3 separate regions of the Homo sapiens genome follow, and regions 2 and 3 are each linked to region 1. The links are contacts of gene promoters, found by promoter capture Hi-C in human tissues and cell types (Jung and others, 2019). All regions are on one chromosome and are shown on one strand. Each heading gives the region's core, a stretch centred on a gene start or on the middle of the fragment in contact. The rest is flanking DNA. Distances are from core to core; before and after follow the strand shown.

Region 1 (4,733 bases), core at 1,230-3,729:
TTCTACAGTCACTGAATTCGAGGTTTTTAATCTTGTTCTGATGCTGTTTTTCTAAGGATTCGGTCTGGCTTTTATCTTTTTCACTACCACACAGGCCAGGGAAGACCACTAGATAGTGACCAGGCCACGCAGCTTCTCTCCTAAGGCTAGGTGGGCTACAAAGATAAGTACCTCAAAGGCTGGTGGGTATGTCTTTCATACATAATCGATGATCAATTTCCAAGGAGTTTAATTTAGTCAAACAGGCTCTCATAGACACAAACAGTGAGAACAGCAGATATACCAAGTGGAGGCTAATCTGATTGTCCTTGGTGCCAGGATATTCAAGTCTGTCATGGGTGGTGAGCCTGCAGTCATGTGGCACCAGAGGGGCAGCTGTATCAACAGGCCCCTTGCAGGCCTGCACATGACATGGCCAGAGATTCAGTTTCAAATAAGGGGGAAGGGAAGAATGAGTAGGGAAAGGACAAGGAAACCCTTTTGCACAATGAAGAGTTGTTCACAGGCCTGTGTCAGAGGGGACAAATCCTATAATGAGGGCCTGAGTTCTTAGAAAGCCAGTGCCTGCTGTTGTACAATCCACTCTTGGGTATCTGCCCATTCGCTGGACATGCTTTGGTGCCCTTCCAGAAGGTGGTATACCTTGACACTTGGACCAGGAAGGATATCTCCACCCCAAACATAGATTACTGCAATGTCCTTGGGACACAGTGCCTGTATTGTTATAATAATCTAAACGTGCTTGGCATCACAAGGCCATGAGGGCGTTTTCTGGGTTCACAGCATGGTGTGTTCTCTGAGTGACAGGTGTGCTGCGGGAGAAACACTGAATGGTCAGCGCATCTGCATCTGGCTCAGGCCTTCTCTGCATGTCAACCAGCTGCAGAGGTTACTTTACCTCTGTCAGCCTGGACCTCAGTTTCCTCAACTGACAAATGACTGTTTTTCTCAGTCTCCTGTCCCCTGCTGCCTCCAACCTTTTCTGAACTGCTGGAGAGATGTAGCAAAGAACCACAAAGCAAGGGGTCGTGAGTGTTGGCATTGTTCATTTCGACAGTAATCAGGGCTGTTAGTTATGGCGGGGATTTACAGAGGTCGGGCACCCTGGCTATGAAAAAGTCCACCTTTGGCCACCCAGGCAAGTGCCCCACCAAATTCCAATGGCAAGAACTTGTCCGTTCTGCCTCCCTGGTGAACCCTAAAGCCCAGGTAACCCCCTCCCCTCTTTACCTCTCTGACTGGTTCTTTAAGTCTCTTCTCACCTCTGATGATTAGCTAAGCCTGCTTCATACTTTACCTTCAGTGAGCATGACCAGGAATCTCTTGTTGTATCAGGTAGGTAAAGTGCTTGCTTGCACATTGAAAAGTTTCATCCATTGGCCTTAACTCTAGATAGGGTTTCAGGCAAGGCAGACAGGAAGCTGAGAAGAGAAGGCAGGGCTGGGAAGTCCCCGTGGCTCAGGGCACCTCTGCGCTTGGGCAGAGAACCCTTGACTCACCTTCCACCGTGCCCTGACCCCTGGTGTGGAAACTAGCACAGTTGGATCCGTATCACGTGTCACGGGGCTGGTTACAAATAGCACAGGGATTGGCAAACTCATCCCGAAACTCCCGGTTCAAGGGCAGGGAAAGTTACCAGTTTAATTCCGGCAGATCATTAGTGGTGGAGAACCAGGAAGGGGGTTCTATCGCAAAGGAGGGCTGTGCGCAGACACGTGGGTGCGGGAGGGGCAGAGCTGGTCCGGCGCGGGGCTTGCCGCGTCTCGGCCTCAGTCTCGGAGCCAGGACCTCAGGCCTGAATGGCTGGGTGTGGAGGGCCCTTGTCTCACATTCTGTAGAGCGCACGTCGTCCCGTGACCTGGTGGCTCCATATTCGATGGGGAGCTCGCAGCGAGTCGCTTCCCTCTGTAACCCCACTCCAGGTCTCCAGAGCAGTAGGAGGGCCACAGGGCTGCTGGGTGTAGTCGCCCCGGACCTCGCGGTGGCCAAGGCCAAGGCGGCCGGGGCACGGTACCCTGTTCGGCCTGGGCCGCAACCACGAAGGAGGCGGTGGAGGCGGGGGCCGGCGCTTCCTCCGCGCCCCCCACGCCGCCGCTCTCTCGCGCCCCTATAGAACTGGGCCTCAGGCCTCGAGGGGGAGCGGGCCTCGGCGGGCGGGGCGCACAGTTCCGCCAGCCGGCGGGGGCATCTCAACTCGCCGGCCCCGCCAGGTGTGCGGGCCAGGCAGCCGTGGAAGGTGCCCATTTCTCCCAGATTCCTCGCGCGCACGGCCACGAGCGCGGAGGCTGCCAAACCCGCCAGCCCTGGGTTCCGAAGCCGCCCCTGGCTCTCCATTCCCTCGCGGGCGCGCCCCGGGCCCCCAGTGGCGGCCAGCTCCCACCGGTCGCTCCTGCACTGCCCTGCCCTGCCCTCCCCGGGCCGCCGCGCCCGCGCAGCACCGCCTCCTTCTCTAAATACTGCCGGGTCCGCCCTCCGCACCAGGACGCGCGGTGGGTAGGGTGCAGGGCGGCCGGCGCAGCCGAGGCCGCGTGCGGAGGCGGACGCCGCGCCCAGCCAGTGCCCACAGCAGCGCGGTCAGCCAGGCGCCGGACCCAGCTTCAGGTAAGCTGCCCCGGCCCGCGCGCCTGCGCCGGCGGCGGCGGGTCGGGCGCTGAGCTGTGCGGCCAGGCTGGGCGCGGGGAGCCGCGGCAGCGCGGAGGCGCTGGGTATCCGAGCCCAACCTGCGTCCCTGCGAGCCCCTCCGGCTGTTGCTTGCGCTCGGGCTCCCTAAAAGCCGCAAACCGATTTCGCACAGAAGGCATTTGCCTCTCGTTTCGTTCCCCAAACGCACCATAGCTTTGGACGTGGAGAGGTGCTGTGAATTTTGGAAATGTCTTTTGGAAAACCAATAGGAGTGTTGGAGAGGGGAGTTTGGCTTTGGGGAGTTTAAGTGTAGGGTGGTGTTTGGAAAAGGTTTCATTGCGAGTGAATGTGGGTGTCTTTGTATCCGTTTGTGAGTGCATCTGTGGGAGAAGGAGAGAGAGAGAGTATTTCCACACTATTATGGATCAGAGGTGAACACTCAGCCAGGTGCTCCGTCCACTAGTCCACGGACAAGAAACTACAGATTCAGTTTTGGGCTTCTATTTACTGGTGTTTGGGAATTTGCCTTAAGACAGTTGAAGCCTTGTGACTCACTGCAAAGTTGACTATACTGGGAATAAATGAATTCCTGATAGGACTTTGCAGCCGAGAATCACCCTTCTCTTTCTTGTCTCCGAAACCGCAAAAGAGATTGCATGATTCAGGAAAAAAATTAAAACAACAACAATAACAAAAAACCAATATATATAGGTTTCAGGACTCTCCATCGTTTCATTCCACTGAGAGTTTTGGAATGTACTCCCTGTAGGATAAATGAGGACTACTGTATACTCAATATGAAATTCTTATTCACTGCAGGATGTTACTGACTTAATAAAAAATGGGAAGATTAAAAAATTAGTGCAATGCTTTGTCTCAGCTTAACTGCATCTGTATATCAAGTTTTTCCAAGTTTGAAATGAAAGCTTTTTTCCCTCCTATATTTCCTTTTTTTCTCCAACTTCCTTCTGATTCTATCATACTTTTTCCTGGAAAAGTTTTTCCCAGTGTAAGATTGCCTGTTTGCTTTCTTTACCTAAACTGACCTTCCCTCAGTGTGATTTTGGTTTGTCAAGATCATCTTGGGCTTAGGGCCTCAGTCTTGAGTTCCTTCATGGGACCATGGATGTGAGCGGCACAAAATATTTTAAAAGTTTTCTTTCCTTGGGCAGGTGAAAATAGTCTTCACGATTTTGGATTGTCTTTGCAATTGCAGGACCTGACTTACGGGGTCCTGGTAAAATATCCCATTCATTGGAGTAAAATAAGATAACGAGATAATTAGGTCAGCTCTGTGTAAGCTAGACAACTCTTTAACAACCACTTGGCATATTTAATATATTATACCCCTGAAGTACAGGGCTTGGGTGATTTTCTGGAAGGTGCTTTCTCACTTGATTCCACTTATACTATTCTTTCAAAGCCAAGTTCCCCCCTTCCACCCATTTTGTGCTTTATAACTAGCAGTTTTATTGGCTGCTTGTTTTTTAACTGAGTCTCAACCTCTTTGTGGAAGTAGGTGACACCATGGAGGAGGGTGAGTGAGAGGCCACACCAGCCTTTGGGTACCTGTCCACTCTGAAAATTGAGCTCCTGTTGACCTGCTGTGCAACACTTTCCAGGGTCATCCCAGATCCAAGCAACTGGGTCACCAGTCTGTGCTTGTTGAGAACCCAAGAACCATTTTGTTTTGTTTTGTTTTGTTTTTGGCAGGGTCTCACTCTGTTGCCCAGGCTGGAGAGTAGTGGCGTGATCTTGGCTCACTGCAACCTCCAGCTCCTGGGCTCAAGCAATCCTCCCACCTCAGCCTACCAAGTAGCTGGGACCACAGGCACCATGCCTGGCTAAAGTTTGTATTTTTAGCAGAGATGGGGTTTTGCTATGTCACCCAGGCTGGTCTCGAACTCCTGAGCTCAAGCAATCTGCCTGCCTCTGCCTCCCAAAGTGCTGGGATTACAGGCGCAAGCCACCACGCCTGGCCTCAAGAACCACATTTTGATAGAATCAACTTAAAAGTCCACCAAACCCACTGTGTTCCTGAACAGACTTCTTATTCTATTGAAATTGCTGAAATTGGGTCTTTTGTAGATGTAGCCTTAGAATAAAACATG
Region 2 (4,749 bases), core at 1,156-3,655, 71 kb after region 1:
CTCGAAGCAGAAGGAAAGAGAAACAGACAGGAAAAAAAGAGCATACCTCACACCTGATTCAACTCTCTTAAAGAAAGCCTTCCTGAAAGATCCATGCTGTACTTAACACTTCCACCTTCTGACCAGAATTTGGCCAGATGGCCACACTAAGCTGCGCAGGAGTCTGGGAAATGTAGTCTTCTTGGTTGCTGTTCTGTTACAAAGGGAAAAGGGTAGAATAATTGTTAGGTAGGCAACTAGCAGCCTGTTCCATACTTGGTCCTCTCTCTCTGTCTCTCTGTTTCTCTGTCTCTCTCTTCCTTCTGTCTGGATTCAAATAACTGCTCAAGAATTTGGAATTTAAGAAAAAATGTTTGTTTTGAATTCCTCTGCTGAACCAAAAATATTAACTTTGAAATGCCAAGTATAAATACACATGACAGATGCAAGGTTTTGGCTAAAGAAGTTTGACTTGTAACTTTAGAATAACAGATGCACTTATCAGCAGGAGAGCTGTCAATGAGTTACAGAGCATCTGAGCTGTAAAATAGGCAAGCTTTAACTAAACCATGACACCAAGGACTTGTTTGTATCACATATTTGTCTCATATGGCTGGATTTTTGTGGGATTTTTTTTGATCCCCCATCTTCCTACTTGAAGGACATCAGTTGTTATGGACACAGTGACATTAAATTCATATGGCAAGATTTGACATAAACAAAGTAAAGTAAGTTCATTCCAGAGGCTGTGACTTAATAAGCTCGAATTTTCCAGAATTTAACCTGGTCCCTGAGTTTGGTGGGGACAGGATGGGAGGGAGGAAGAGCAGGAAGCCAGACACCTTTGGGAGCTGCCACGAGTTCTTTGGGAGCATTAGAGCTATATTTGGTGCAATTAAGTTGCTAATTCAGTAAAAACTACACAGTTCCCTTGTGGCCTGGGAAAGTAAAATGCAGCTGCTAAAGGTGGCTGATTTACAAGCCGGGAATGGCTGAGGTACCGGGGGAAATGAGCCAGATTCTTCCAAAAGCCTAAATCACTCTCTTAGTCAGGCGATCAAAACAGCATGCTCACCCTGGGCAGAGCACCAGAGTTGGGCAGCCTCCAAAACTGGCCTTGAAAAAATTCCCAGTTTTTCAGCAGGATTAGACCCTTGCCTCTCCTTCATTCCTCAGAAGGATGCAGAAAGTGTAAGGGATTCCTTAAAGGATCACAGTTCAGTCCCTACACTTTCCCAAACCCCAATCCCGACCCAAGGGAAAACAACGTAAAAGGCAGAGAGGTATGTATTTAGTCTGTGATCTGTTCCATTAGCAAGTTCAGGTCACTGGGGATTGCATCAGGCCAGCTGGGGTGGGCGGGGCTCATCTGAAGGGCTATGCAGACTATCTACCACACATCCTCAGTGGGCACCATTCACAGCATAGTCTAATTTACTGGTTCTCAAACATGGTGGGTGCATATTAGAATTACTTGGGCATTTAAAAAAATCCCAAGCCAGGATGCAACTCAGAACAATTACATCAGACAACCTGGAGGAGGGACTAAGACATCAATAATGTTTAAATTTCCTCCAAATGTTTCCAACATGCAGCTGAGTTTAAGGCCCAGTGGTCTCATTCATGTAGACTTTGATGTGAATGGCACTCCCTGTAGCTGTGCTGAGTATGACCTGCAAAGACATATTTCATAGTCCTAGGTGGAGGTGGAGATGCAAAGAGTTAGCAGAGGACAATAGGGAGATGGGGATGCCTTCTAGGAAAAAAAAGACATGTCAAAAGGAAATCTAGAAAGTGGCCCTCACACCAGCCTCCTGTGACTAGGGTTGCCTGTAGACTGGGTAAAAAAAAAAATAAGACATTCTATTATTTGGGGCTCCTGAACAGTTTACATGATCCCAGATTTCTCTCCTGTTAATCTGCTCTAGTTCCTAATCTTCATTTCTTGGATATTGTCTTAGATATGTATTTTATGTAATTAAAATAGCAACCAACAAACACTCATGCATCACTTCAGAGTTTGCAAAGCCGTGTTTCAATGCCCATTATCCTCACCGGGATGACTCATAAAGTCTCTGCCCCCTGTCTGTGGAGTCCAAGTCCCTTTCTTTCTCAGATCCAGGTGCCATTAGAACTGGAGGATTGGTTTTTCACCAGCTTCTACACAGAGGTTTCCCACCTATGGTGTCTGCTGGGAATTTTTTTTCCTTTGCTGAATTTTTAATTACTGTGAAACAACTTGGAGCATGAGTTTATGGGCAAAATCAGCATTTCCAATGTGGCCTCATCCTTGCTCAAGGTAGGGCCCCAGGTCAAATGGCCGTCTGATCTCCACCAAAGGCCCAGTGTTAGGCACAAAGGAGGCACTTAGCAGCGCTTTGTGGAACAAATGCAGAGTGGATGCTGCGTTGGCAAACCATGCAGGCAGCCACCAGTCAGGAGAAAGGCTCTGGGTGCTGAGAGGGAGACTTACAGCCACAGAAAAGAACGGAATATTCCAAGCTTAAGTAGTTTTAAATTTGGTTGAGGATTCTGGTCTTAGCCCATCTTCAGCCTTGTCAAAGGCAATAGTCAAAGAGGGCTCCCGAAACTGTCCTGGTGAGCCAGAATGCAGGCTGAGTTCACAGTCTGGGTCCTCGGGTGGCCTAACACTCATGTGCAGTCACCAGGTCTCTGGTCCACAGGCAGTAGGAGCAGAGCAGCCAATTTCCTGTAGCCAAAAGACTTGGCCCCTGACTGGCTGAGTGGCTGTGAACACGTCCCTGAAAATTGTCATGCCTCTGTCTCTTTGATCCGACAAGTGGGGTTAATAGTCCCAGCCTCTTAATGTTGCTGTGAGACTCAGCTGCTGTTTAGCACGGCGCTCCATAAATGGTGGCAGTGGTATTATTGCAGGCTCCGGTCTATCTCCGATTTTACTGCCTTCACCAGTGAAAACCAGCAGGGCGAGCCTGGTCTCCTTCCTGTTCCCCACAGCCTGATCTGACAGGCTCTCTATCACCGGGCCATGATGTGTGCTTGTTTCATGGATCAGGAGATAACTAATACTTTTAGCAGGATATATTTGAACTGTAAGGTTCCAGTTCAGTCCTTTTCTTTAAGGACCTAGAATAGTGATTAAGAAAATAAGTTCCGGAGTCAAAATGGGCTCAAAGTTTTGCTCTACCACTGTGCTATATATAGCCTTGATGATAGGGTTTGGCTGCATCCCCACCCAAATCTTACCTTGAATTATAATCCCCATAATCCCCACGTGCTGTGGGAGGAACCTGGTGGGAGGTAATTGAATCATGGAGCCAGTTTCTCCCATGCTGTTCTAGAGCTAATGAGTGAGTTCTCATGAGATCTGATGGTTTTATAAGCGTCTGGCATTTCCCCTGCTGGCACTCATTCTCTCTCCTACTGCACTGTGAAAAGGCACCTTCTGCCATGATTGTAAGTTTCCTGAGGCCTCCCCAGCCATGTGGAACTGTGAGTCAATTAAACGTCTTTTCTTTATAAATTACTCAGTCTCAAGTATTTCTTCATAGCAGTAGGAGAATGGACTAATACACTTGGGCAAGGTTCTTGCCCTCGGTAAAGTGTCAATGTCCACATCTGTGAAATGAAATTGATGCTACTGTTTATGGCATAGGTTTATTGGGAGAATCAAAGGATATAATGCCTGGGACATAATTAGCACGTGATATGGGCAGTCCTGTTTATATCTCCCCTCCCTGTGATCTAGGACTAAAGACTCTCTTAGTAAATTCTCCCATGGTTTCCCATGGCAGTTCTGGCCAACTTCAGCTCTGTTCAACTCCAAGGATGCCGGGAAAGCCCTATTTTCCAGGAGTTTTCCTTCCAAAGTGTCCTCACTTGATGGAAATTTCTTAACTCCAAAAAGAGCTCTTGGGGCCAGGCACAATAGCTCACACCTGTAATCTCAGCACTTTGGGAGGCTCAAGCAGGTGGATCACTTGAGGCCAGGAGTGTGAGACCAGCCTGGCCAACATGGCGAAACCCCATCTCTACTAAAAATACAAAAATTAGTCAGGCATGGTGGTGAGCGCCTGTAACCCCAGCTACTCAGGAGGCTGAGGCCGAGAATTGCTTGAACCTGGGAGGTGGAGGTTGCAGAGAGCCAAGATCACACCACTGTACTCTAGCCTGAGCAACACAGCGAGACTCTGTCTCAAAAACCAAAAACTAACCAAACAAAAAAACCTTACCAGTTTTCACACAGGTACACACAGGTAGTAAGTAATAGAGCTGGATTTAAATACAGGCAATCTCCTTATAAAATCAGCATGATGTGGGGGTGGACAGAGGGAGGTGGCATTAAGCAGTTTAAAATTTGACTTGATAAGGCTGGGGATACCATGCTTAGCCTGTGGTGAAAGTATAGAAAGGATGAAACTAGTTCTGGAGGGTTCTTGCTTTCTAGGGCAATAGCCATCCTTGAAATTATTCTAACATTTGATCACTTGTCTTAGTGTGCCACTTCAAGTCACCTCTCACTTTTTCTCCCATTGTTCCTGCAGGTAGATCATGTCCTGTTTCAGTAGGGATGATATACCTGTGCCAATTCACCTGTGCTATTTAGAACAGACACTTTCTGCCAAGTGTACCACCCCACACCTTGCCAGACTGCTCCACCCAAAAAGCAGGGCCTGGGGTGGGTGACCCACATAAGGTGGCGACTCCTAAACCTAATAATAACTCCTACCCTGTGGGGTCAACTATTTTGTGTTTGTTCATGGCCCCAAGCCCCACCCCATAAATTTGACA
Region 3 (4,440 bases), core at 325-2,824, 89 kb after region 1:
ACTGCCTCTCTAGATTCCTCCTCTCTGGGCAGGGCATCTCTGAAAGAAAGACAGTAGACCCAGTCAGGGGCTTATAAATCAAACTCCCATCTCCCTGGGACAGAGCACCTGGGGTAAGGGGGCAGCTGTGGGTGCACCTTCAGCAGACTTAAACGTTCCTGCCTGCCAGCTCTGAAGAGAGCAGCAGATCTCCCAGCACAGTACTTGAGCTCTGCTAAGGGACAGACTGCCTCCTCAAGTGGGTCCCTGACCCCTGTGCCTCCTGACTGGGAGATACCTCCCAGCAGGGGTCGACAGACATTTCATAAAGGAGAGCTCCAACTGGCATCTGGCAGGTGCCCCTCTGGGATGAAGCTTCCAGAGGAAGGAACAGGCAGCAGTCTTTGCTGTTCTGCAGCCTCCATGGGTGATACCCAGGCAAACAGAGTCTGGAGTGGACCTCCAGCAAACTCTAGCAGACCTGCAGCAGAGAGGCCTGACTATTAGAAGGAAAACTAACAAACAGAAAGGAATAGCATCAACATCAACAAAAAGGTTGTCCACACAAAAACCCCATCCGAAGCTTACCAACATCAAAGACCAAAGGTAGATAAATCCACGAAGATAAGGAAAAACCACCACAAAAAAAGCTGAAAATTGCAAAACCCAGAATGCCTCTTCTCCTCCAAAGGATCACAACTCCTTGCCAGCAAGGGAACAAAACTGGATGGAGAATGAGTTTGACAAATTGACAGAAGTAGACTTCAGAAGGTGGGTAATAACAAACTCCTATGAGCTAGAGGAGCATGTTCTAACCCAATGCAAGGAAGCTAAGAAACTTGAAAAAGGTTAGAGGAATTGTTAACTAGAATAACCAGTTTAGAGAAGAACATAGATGAACTGATGGAGCTGAAAAACACAGCATGAGAACTTCCTGAAGCATACACAAGTATGAATAGCCAAATCGATCAAGCAGAAGAAAGGATATCAGAGATTGAAGATCAACTTAATGAAATAAAGCATGAAGACAAGATTAGAGAAAAAAGAATGAAAAGGAATGAACAAAGCCTCCAAGAAATATGGGACTATGTGGAAAGACCAAACCTATGTTTGATTAGTGTACCTGAAAGTGATGGGGAGAATGGAACCAACTAGGAAAGCACTCTTCAGGATATCATCCAGGAGAACTTCCCCAGCCTAGCAAGACAGGCCAATATTCAAATTCAGGAAATAAAGAGAACACCACAAAGATACTCCTCGAGAAGAGTAATCCCAAGACACATAATTGTCAGATTCACCAAGGTTGAAATGAAGGAAAAAGAGCAGCCAGAGAGAAAGGTTGGGTTACTCACAAAGGGAAGCCCATCAGACTAACAGCAGATCTCTTGGCAGAAACCCTACAAGCCAGAAGAAAGTGGGGGGCCAATATTCAACATTCCTAAAGAAAGTAATTTTCAACCCAGAATTTCATATCCAGCCAAACTAAGCTTCAAAAACAAAGGAGAAATAAAATCCTTCACAGACAAGCAAATGCTGAGAGATTTTGTCACCACCAGGCCTGCCTTACAAGATCTCCTGAAGGAAGCACTAAATATGGAAAGGAAAAACCTGCACCAGCCACTACAAAAAGATGCCAAATTGTAAAGACCATCTACACCATGAAGAAATTGCATCAACCAATGGGCAAAATAACCAGCTAGCATCATAATGATGGATCAAATTCACACATAAAAATATTAACCTGAAATGTAAATGGGCTAAATGCCCCAATTAAAAGACACTGGTTGGCAAATTGGATAAAGAGTCAAGACCCATTGGTGTGCTGTATTCAAGAGACCCATCTCATGTGCAAAGACACACATAGGTTCAAAATAAAGGGATGGAAGAATATTTACCAAGCAAATGGAAAGCAAAAAAAGCAGAGGTTGCAATCCTAGTCTCTGATAAAACAGACTTTAAACCAACAAAGATAAAAAAAATACAAAGAAAGACATTACATAATGGTCAGGGATCAATGCAACAAGAAGAGCTAACTATCCTAAATATATATGCACCCAATACAGGAGCACCCAGATTCATAAAGCAAGTTCTTAGAGACCTCCAAAGAGACTTAGACTCCCACACAATAATAGTGGGAGATTTTAACACCCCACTGTCAATATTAGACAAATCAACAAGACAGAAAATTAACAAGGATATTCAGGACTAGAACTCAGCTCTGGACCAAGTGGACCTAATAGACATCTATAGAACTCTCCACCTCAAATCAACAGAATATACATTCTTCTTGGCACCACATCACACTTATTATAAAACTGACCACATAATTGGAAGTAAAACACTCCTCAGCAAAAGAACAGAAATCATAACAAACAGTCTATCAGACCACCGTGCAATCAAATTAGAACTCAGGATTAAGAAACCCACTCAAAACTGCACAACTACATGGAAACTGAACAACCTGCTCCTGAATGACTACTGGGTAAATAACGAAAGAAGGCAGAAATAAATAAGTTCTTTGAAACCAATGAGAACAAAGACACAACGTGTGAGAATCTCTGGGACACAGCTAAAGCAGTGTTTAGAGGAAAATTTATAGCACTAAATGCCCACAGGAGAAAGCAGGAAAGATCTAAAATCGACACCCTAACATCCCAATGAAAAGAACTAGAGAAGCAAGAGCAAACTAATTCAAAAGCTAGCAGAAGACAAGAAATAACTAAGATCAGAGCAGAAGTGAAGGAGACAGAGACACGAAAAACCCTTCAAAAATTCAATGAATCCAGGAGCTGTTTTTTTGAAAAGATTAACAAAATAGATAGACTGCCAGCCAGACTGATAAAGAAGAAAACAGAGAAAAATCAAGTAGACACAATAAAAAATGATAAAGGGGATATCACCACTGATCCCACAGATATACAAACTATAATCAGAGACTACTATAAACATCTCTATGCAAATAAACTAGAAAATCTAGAAGAAATGGATAAATTCCTGGACACACACACCCTCCCAAGACTAAACCAGGAAGAAGTCAAATCCCTGAATAGACCAATAACAAGTTCTGAAATTGAGGCAGTAATTAATAGCCTACCAACCAAAAAAAGCTCAGGACCAGATGGATTCATGGCCGAATTCTACCACAGGTACAAAGACAAGCTGGTACCATTCCTTCTGAAACTATTCCAAACAATAGAAAAAGAGGGACTCCTCCCTAACTCATTTTATGAGGCCAGCATCATCCTGATACCAAAACCTGGCAGAGACACAACAAAAAAAGAAAAATTCAGGCCAATATCCCTCATGAACATCGATGCAAAAATCCTCAATAAAATACTGGCAAACTGAATCCAGCAACATATCTAAAAGCATATCCACCACCATCAAGTCAGCTTCATCCCTGGGATGCAAAGCTGGTTCAACATATATAAATCAATACACATAATCCATCACATAAACAGAACCAATGACAAAAACCACATGATTATCTCAATACATGCAGAAAAGGCCTTCAACAAAATTAAACACCCCTCCAAGCTAAAAACTCTCAATAAACTAGGTATTGATGGAACATATCTCTAAATAATAAGAGCTACTTATGACAAACCCACGGCCAATATCATACTGAATGGGCAAAAGCTGGAAGCATTCCCTTTGAAAACCAGCACAAGACAAGAATGCCCTCTCTCACTACTCCTATTCAACATAGCATTGGAAGTTCTGGCCAGGGCAATCAGGCAAGAGAGAGAAATAAAGGGTATTGAGATACGAAGAGAGGAAGTCAAATTGTCTCTGTTTGCAGATGACATGATTGTATATTTAGAAAACCCCATCGTCTCAGCCCAAAATCTCCCAAAGCTGATAAGCAACTTCTGCAAATTCTCAGGATACAAAATCAATGTGCAAAAATCACAAGCATTCCTATATTCCAGTAATAGACAGAGAGCCAAATCATGAGTGAACTCCCATTCACAATTGCTACAAAGAGAATAAAATACCTAGGAATACAACTTATAATGGATGTGAAGGATCTCTTCAAGGAGAACTACAAAACACTGCTCAAAAAAATAAGACAGGACAGAAACAAATGGAAAAACATTCCATGCTCATGGATAGGAAGAATCAATATTGTAAAAATGGCCATACTGCCCAAAGTAATTTATAGATTAAATGTTATCCCCATCAAGCTACCATTGACTTTCTTCACAGAATTAGAAAAAACTACTTTAAATTTCATACGGAACCAAAAGAGCCCATATAGCCAAGACAATCCTAAGCAAAAAGAACAAAGCTGGAGGTATCACGTTACCTGACTTCAAACTGTACTACAAGGCTACAGTAACCAAAACAGCATGGTACTGGTACCAAAATAGATATATAGACCAATGGAACAGAAGAGAGGCCTCAGACATAATGCCACACATTTACAACCATCTGATCTTTGACAAACCTGACAAAAAC

What was found. The method cuts DNA at HindIII sites, captures the fragments that hold promoters and counts their contacts. A contact is called where the count stands out against the background at its distance.
Region 2: a fragment that was not itself captured here is called in contact with the fragment with the promoter of TMEM171 in region 1 in 4 of the 25 tissues and cell types used here (IMR-90 fibroblasts, aorta, dorsolateral prefrontal cortex and 1 more).
Region 3: a contact is called between a fragment that was not itself captured here and the fragment with the promoter of TMEM171 in region 1, in 4 of the 25 tissues and cell types used here (H1 embryonic stem cells, IMR-90 fibroblasts, bladder and 1 more).

What each region holds. Positions count from the first base shown.
Region 1 is chr5:73,118,096-73,122,828 of GRCh38, forward strand. It overlaps TMEM171 (transmembrane protein 171), which reads left to right and starts at 2,480. Exons shown (of 4, transcript NM_173490.8): 1 at 2,480-2,601. LOC124901001 reads right to left here and starts at 2,396. Exons shown (of 2, transcript XM_047417978.1): 1 at 1-2,396. The coding sequence starts at 2,334. The coding sequence ends at 1,633. RefSeq lists an enhancer at 1,319-1,870. The HindIII fragment of the contact is 7,583 bases long and covers 1-4,733 here.
Region 2 is chr5:73,188,971-73,193,719 of GRCh38, forward strand. No RefSeq gene overlaps it. Among named protein-coding and RNA genes, the nearest start is that of TMEM174, 18 kb to the left of the region's middle. The HindIII fragment of the contact is 4,970 bases long and covers 1-4,749 here.
Region 3 is chr5:73,207,505-73,211,944 of GRCh38, forward strand. No RefSeq gene overlaps it. Among named protein-coding and RNA genes, the nearest start is that of TMEM174, 37 kb to the left of the region's middle. The HindIII fragment of the contact is 6,658 bases long and covers 1-4,440 here.